Linked DNA regions of Homo sapiens: region 2 is linked to region 1. Evidence: promoter capture Hi-C in human tissues and cell types (Jung and others, 2019). All regions are on one chromosome and are shown on one strand. Each heading gives the region's core, a stretch centred on a gene start or on the middle of the fragment in contact. The rest is flanking DNA. Distances are from core to core; before and after follow the strand shown.

Region 1 (2,511 bases), core at 9-2,508:
GAGGAGCGGCAGTGCCTGGTAGAGAGGACAGAAGCGGGCCCCAGGCCAGGCTCATGGAACAACCTTGCCGACCGCTGGAGCCCGGGATAGGGTGGGGACCGCCCCTCCTCCAGCCCTGATGACGCTGCCTGGCAGCGCGGAGCCCTGGGAACTGGAACTCTGCCCTCGCCAGGGACCCCACACCCCACACCTGGGAGCATTGAGCCCACTGGGCAGACAACCTGCCGGCCCCCCTGCTGGCCTAGGTTGGACCTGCTGACCCCTGAAGAGCCAGCAGGGGCAGCCAGGGATGGGCCCCAGAGGCTCACAAGCCAGACAGTGGGTGACAGGCTGATCAGGGCCACATCGGGGAGGGTGGCTCTGCCGTGGCCTCGTTCCTGGGCTGGCTGATGGGCAGTCGGGGGCCCCTGATGGGGATAGTGGCTGGACAGGCAGGAGTGCCACATGAGCATGGAGAGTATCCCCACCCCACCCACCTGGGTCCAGCCCCCTGCTGCACACTGATCTTATCACCTGTCACCAAGGTCAGGGCTGCCGGGGAGTTGGGTCACCTGCTCGAGGGCCCCGCCCAGAGACGCCCAGAGACACCCAGCCCCCAGAAGTGCCCACATCCGGCCAAATGGGGGCTCACCAGCTGCCCGTGGACGGAGTGGTGAGTGGGGGACACACGCAGGAGGAGGTCTGCTGGGTAGGGCTGTGGCTCTGCTGCTCACCCCACTGTGGTGAGCCCAGTGCTGGGGGTCTGGGTTGACCCGAGAGCCCCAGGCAGCAGGGGACGGGCTGGACGCCGGAGCCAGCAACGGCCAGGACAGGGGCATGGGGAAGAGATCTGTGGGAGGCCCTGGGGTCAGAACTGGGATCTGCGAGCAGACGGAGAGGAGGCTCGGGGGCTCACCAGCCTCAAGACGTCGGTTTTGGGGGTGGATCTCCAGGGAGGAGGCCCCCAGTCTCCAGGAGGCTCCATGCCTCAGGCTCAGACCGGCAGCTCGGGAACCCAGCTAGCAGGATGAACTCCAGCAGAGGAACTCAGCGCCATTGCTGCGGCTGTGGGCCAGAAGAGAAAGAGAAAGAGAAAGAGAATCCGCCTCGGTGTGACAAGCTGTGCCTCAGAACCCGAGCAGCAGGAGAGTGGGCAGCAGGGGGTGTCTGGCAGCAGAGAGGGGCTCAGGCCTGCTGGGTGGAGCGGCGCTGGGGGACACAGGTGGGCCCTGCGGGAGGCAGGAGCTGTCCAGGCAAAGCCGAGGGGAAGGGCCGGTATGAAGGAGGCGCCCGATGGGAGGGGCGAGTTCTCCCCCTGCACCATTCCAGTCCACTCCGGGTTTCCTGTAGAAGGGGGAGCCCCCCAAAGTCCATCTGTGTTTCCCCACCTCACTCACACACTCAGGGACCCTCGGCTGCTCCCCGGGGCGCTGACTGACATTTTTGCCGAATAAAGGGGCCCTGTGGGTTTCCTGTTCCCATCTCAGCTTCTGCTGAACAGGGTAAACTTCCCTTCCGAATAAAACCACCAGAATGCGGTCTGGCCAATTTCAGTCATAGACCCACCAGGCCTGTGTCCCTGCGTGAGGGGGTGGGAAAAGCCCAGAGTGCCCCTACCCGTCCCCTGGGAGGGGTGGAAGGGCAGCTCTTGCTCCCCCTGCAGAGACGCTGCGCGGACTGGGAAGGCTGCCAGCCTCGCCCGGTCTCCCTGTGGACCCTGCCCTGACCCCACCCCAGCTTCCTGGCTCCCTGCACCCCACTGGGCTTCCCTGCCCCACAGAGCCTGGTGGTAGGGAGACCTCCGGATGGAGACAGCCCACAGTCCCGGAGCCCCAAGGCAGGCACCAGTGAGTCCCTCGTGACGGCCTCGCTCCCTGCATCACATGGAACCTCGTGACCCACGTGACGACGCCAGTGCCCCCGTGGCCCCTTCCTGCTGCTGGACGTGATGCAGTCAATGGAAGCCCAGGTCTGTCACGCACCGCCTGTGCTTGCCCAGAGCAGGTCCCAGTCACCCCCTCTGGCACCGCCTGCTGCACACCAGGAACCCCCACCTCCAGCAAGCCCATCTGCCAGACGCCTGGCCCAGGACCGCCCCCTGCCCCTCGACTGCCCCCTGCCCCTCCTGGTCCTGACTTCAGCCAGGTGACCCCCTCCAGGGTCCAGCCCTGGCCCCTGGGGGACTCAGTGGCATCTGGTGGAAAGGACCTTGGGGATTGCGCCCACCCTCACCTGCAGGAGAGTTGGCAGGGTGGCCAGCCACAGGAATCTGTGGCAGGAGCCCGGGGACCTGCACCCCAACTAGAAAGTGTGCAGCCCTGCAGGCCGGCCCTGGAGAGGGAGCAGGCAGGGGTGAAGTTAGGCCGGCTGTGGTGTGCGACACCGTCCTGTGGGGCCAAGCGTCCCGAGCTCCAGAGGCAGGTGCACTCCTGGCCAGCATCCAGGGTGGACGAGCCCAGACCCCAATACTCTGAGGCAGGGTGGGGGACCAGGTGGCACCCAGTGGAGGAAAAGCCCCCAAGAGACACGCAG
Region 2 (2,511 bases), core at 6-2,505, 360 kb after region 1:
AACACCAACCTATGGCCTCCAGGCTGGGGCCCCTTGAAGGACGGTGGGCCACTCGGGTGGCCTGGGTTCAGGGCCGGGCTCCACAGCTGAGTTCTGGAGGGAGGGCACAGACGACTGGGGGCTGGGAGGGGCCAGGTGAGGGGTAGGAACAGCCAGGGAGCCCTGCAGGAGGGGTGCCCAGCATAGCCCCAAAGCTGCTGGGGCTGGGCAGGGCAGAAACTGCCAAGGAGTCCCAGAGCCCTGAGTGGCGTCTGGCGAGGGCCCCTGACCCTGATCTCTGTAGACCCCACTCCTTCCGTGAGGGTGGCAGCCACTCCAGGGCCCAGCAGGGCCAAGGGAGAGGCAAGTGGCCTGGGCCCATGGGGCACTGGGCACAGCCAAGTGTGGCACCAGGGTGCCTGGGCGGCTGCTGCCACCACGTGGCCGACTTTGAGGTCGCAGAGCCCGGGGTCCAGGCAGGAAAGCCCCTCAGCTGCCCCCAGGGCCCTGGCCCAGGCCCCTGAGGCCCAAGTGAGCCACCTGGACTTTGTCACTTCGCCTCTGGTTTCTTGGTTAAGGAGCTTGAGTTCCCCGCCTTTTGTAAAGAAACGGTGGTGGCGACGGCGGATTTCAAGCTTTATTTACTCCTGGAATGGTCCTGGGAGGAGAGGCGGCTCCGCAGAGCCGGAAACGGGGGCGGGAGCTGTTGGGTGCAGCCGGGAGGAGGCAGTGCCGGGGCGGGCCGGGCAGCCATCGGGGTAACGGAGGGGGCTCCGGCCCGGGGGCTGCCCGGACGGGAAAGGGGACACGGGCGGGGCTCCCCCACCTGGGCCCCCCACCCTCACGCCAGGCCCCCCTGTGCGGTGCAGGACGAAGGAACCCTGGCCTCAGTTTCCCTACAGGCTGGGATCAGGGCCCCTGGGGTTCCGACTGTCTCGGAGGGGGGCGGCCTCGCTGCAGAGGTCTGGAGGCGGGGCCGGGGCGGGGGCGGGGCCTGGAGGGGCGGGGGCGGGGCTTGCGCTCACTTCCGCCCGGCGCGGGCTTGGATGGAGGCGGCGCGGAGGCCGCGGCTGGGGTTGAGCCGCCGGAGGCCGCGCCCGGCGGGCGGGTGAGGCCGGGAGCCGGGCGGGGGCGCGGCCGGTTTTCCCGCTCCCACGTGCTTCCCGGCGCCCCCGCGGGCCTCCCGCTCTATTCTCCCCCTGGGGAGGGCTCCCTGCCCCCGGGCCCGGCCCCCACGCCCGTCGCCCCACCCCGCGCCGCCATTCAGCGCCCGCCTTGAGCCCCCACCCCACGCCGAGCTTCCCCCGCGCCGCCCCAGGCCCTCCCGCGCCTCTCCCATCATCGCGTCTCCCCTGAGCACCCCCCATCTAACCCTCTACCTTCCCCAGGCCCTCCGCAATCTCCCCAACCATCGCCTCATCCCGCTGAGGACCCCATATTTCCACCCACCCACCCCGCTCCCCCACCCCCAGTACCCCTCATCTCCGCACTGTCTGCCCCAGCAGCCCTTCCCCCAACCCTGCCGGCCACCTCCCGCACCATCGAATTTCCCTCTAGTACCCCCCATCTCCCCGCTCTCTCTGCCCCAGGCCCTCCCGGGTCTCCCCACCATAGCGTTTCCGCTACTGAGTACCCCCTGTCTGCCCTCTCTGTCTGCCCCAGGCCTTCTGGCGGCCGCCCCTGGTTTCTCCTGGGGGGTGATGAGCGGGAGCGGCTCTGGGCCGAGCTACTGCGCACGGTGAGCCCGGAGCTGATCCTGGATCACGAGGTGCCTTCACTGCCCGCCTTCCCAGGACAGGTGTGCCCACTGGGCCCATCTTAGCGATGAAGGGGTTTCCAGGGCGGGAGCCATCGCTGGGCAAGGCCCAACAACTCTGTGTTGCAGGAGCCCAGGTGCGGCCCGGAGCCCACTGAAGTCTTCACTGTCGGACCCAAGACCTTTTCCTGGACACCCTTTCCGCCGGACCTGTGGGGCCCGGGCCGTTCCTACCGGCTGCTTCACGGGGCAGGAGGGCACCTGGAATCCCCCGCCAGGTCCCTGCCCCAGCGCCCGGCACCTGATCCCTGCAGGGCCCCCAGGGTGGAGCAGCAGCCGTCTGTGGAGGGTGCCGCGGCCCTGCGCAGCTGCCCCATGTGCCAGAAGGAGTTCGCCCCCAGGTGAGTAGGCCACCCCTGCGCCCGGCCCGGTTATCCATCCGTGTTTGGAAACCACAGCCGTTCAGAAGGTCAAGAGGTGGCCGAGCTCAGCGCTGGCTTTTAAAGCCCTGTTTCACACTGGAAAGGTGGCCCAGTGCTGTGGCCTGGCATGTCCAGGTGGCTCTCTGTCACGGGTCTGGGGTCCACCTGCTTGCCGTGCTCTGTGGGCAGGGCAGGCTGGGGGCCCACAGAACAGCACAGAAGGAAGGCTGGGAGCACTGGCCCCGGGTCCACCTGGCCATCCTGGAATCTGGTGGCACCAGCGTCCCCAGGCCCAGAGCACAGGAACACCTTCCCGAGAGTGCGTCATGGGTTTTAAAAATGAAGATCGTCTTT

What was found. The method cuts DNA at HindIII sites, captures the fragments that hold promoters and counts their contacts. A contact is called where the count stands out against the background at its distance.
Region 2: a fragment that was not itself captured here is called in contact with the fragment with the promoter of TNFRSF14 in region 1 in 1 of the 25 tissues and cell types used here (dorsolateral prefrontal cortex).

What each region holds. Positions count from the first base shown.
Region 1 is chr1:2,555,118-2,557,628 of GRCh38, reverse strand. TNFRSF14 (TNF receptor superfamily member 14) reads right to left here and starts at 1,258. Exons shown (of 8, transcript NM_003820.4): 1 at 896-1,258. The coding sequence starts at 964. It overlaps TNFRSF14-AS1 (TNFRSF14 antisense RNA 1), which reads left to right and starts at 618. Exons shown (of 7, transcript NR_037844.2): 1 at 618-652; 2 at 933-2,511. The HindIII fragment of the contact is 19,271 bases long and covers 1-2,511 here.
Region 2 is chr1:2,193,264-2,195,774 of GRCh38, reverse strand. It overlaps FAAP20 (FA core complex associated protein 20), which reads left to right and starts at 1,003. Exons shown (of 4, transcript NM_182533.4): 1 at 1,003-1,087; 2 at 1,642-1,777; 3 at 1,865-2,136. The coding sequence starts at 1,026. RefSeq lists an enhancer at 1-35 and silencers at 669-1,148, 1,159-1,248. The HindIII fragment of the contact is 5,508 bases long and covers 1-2,511 here.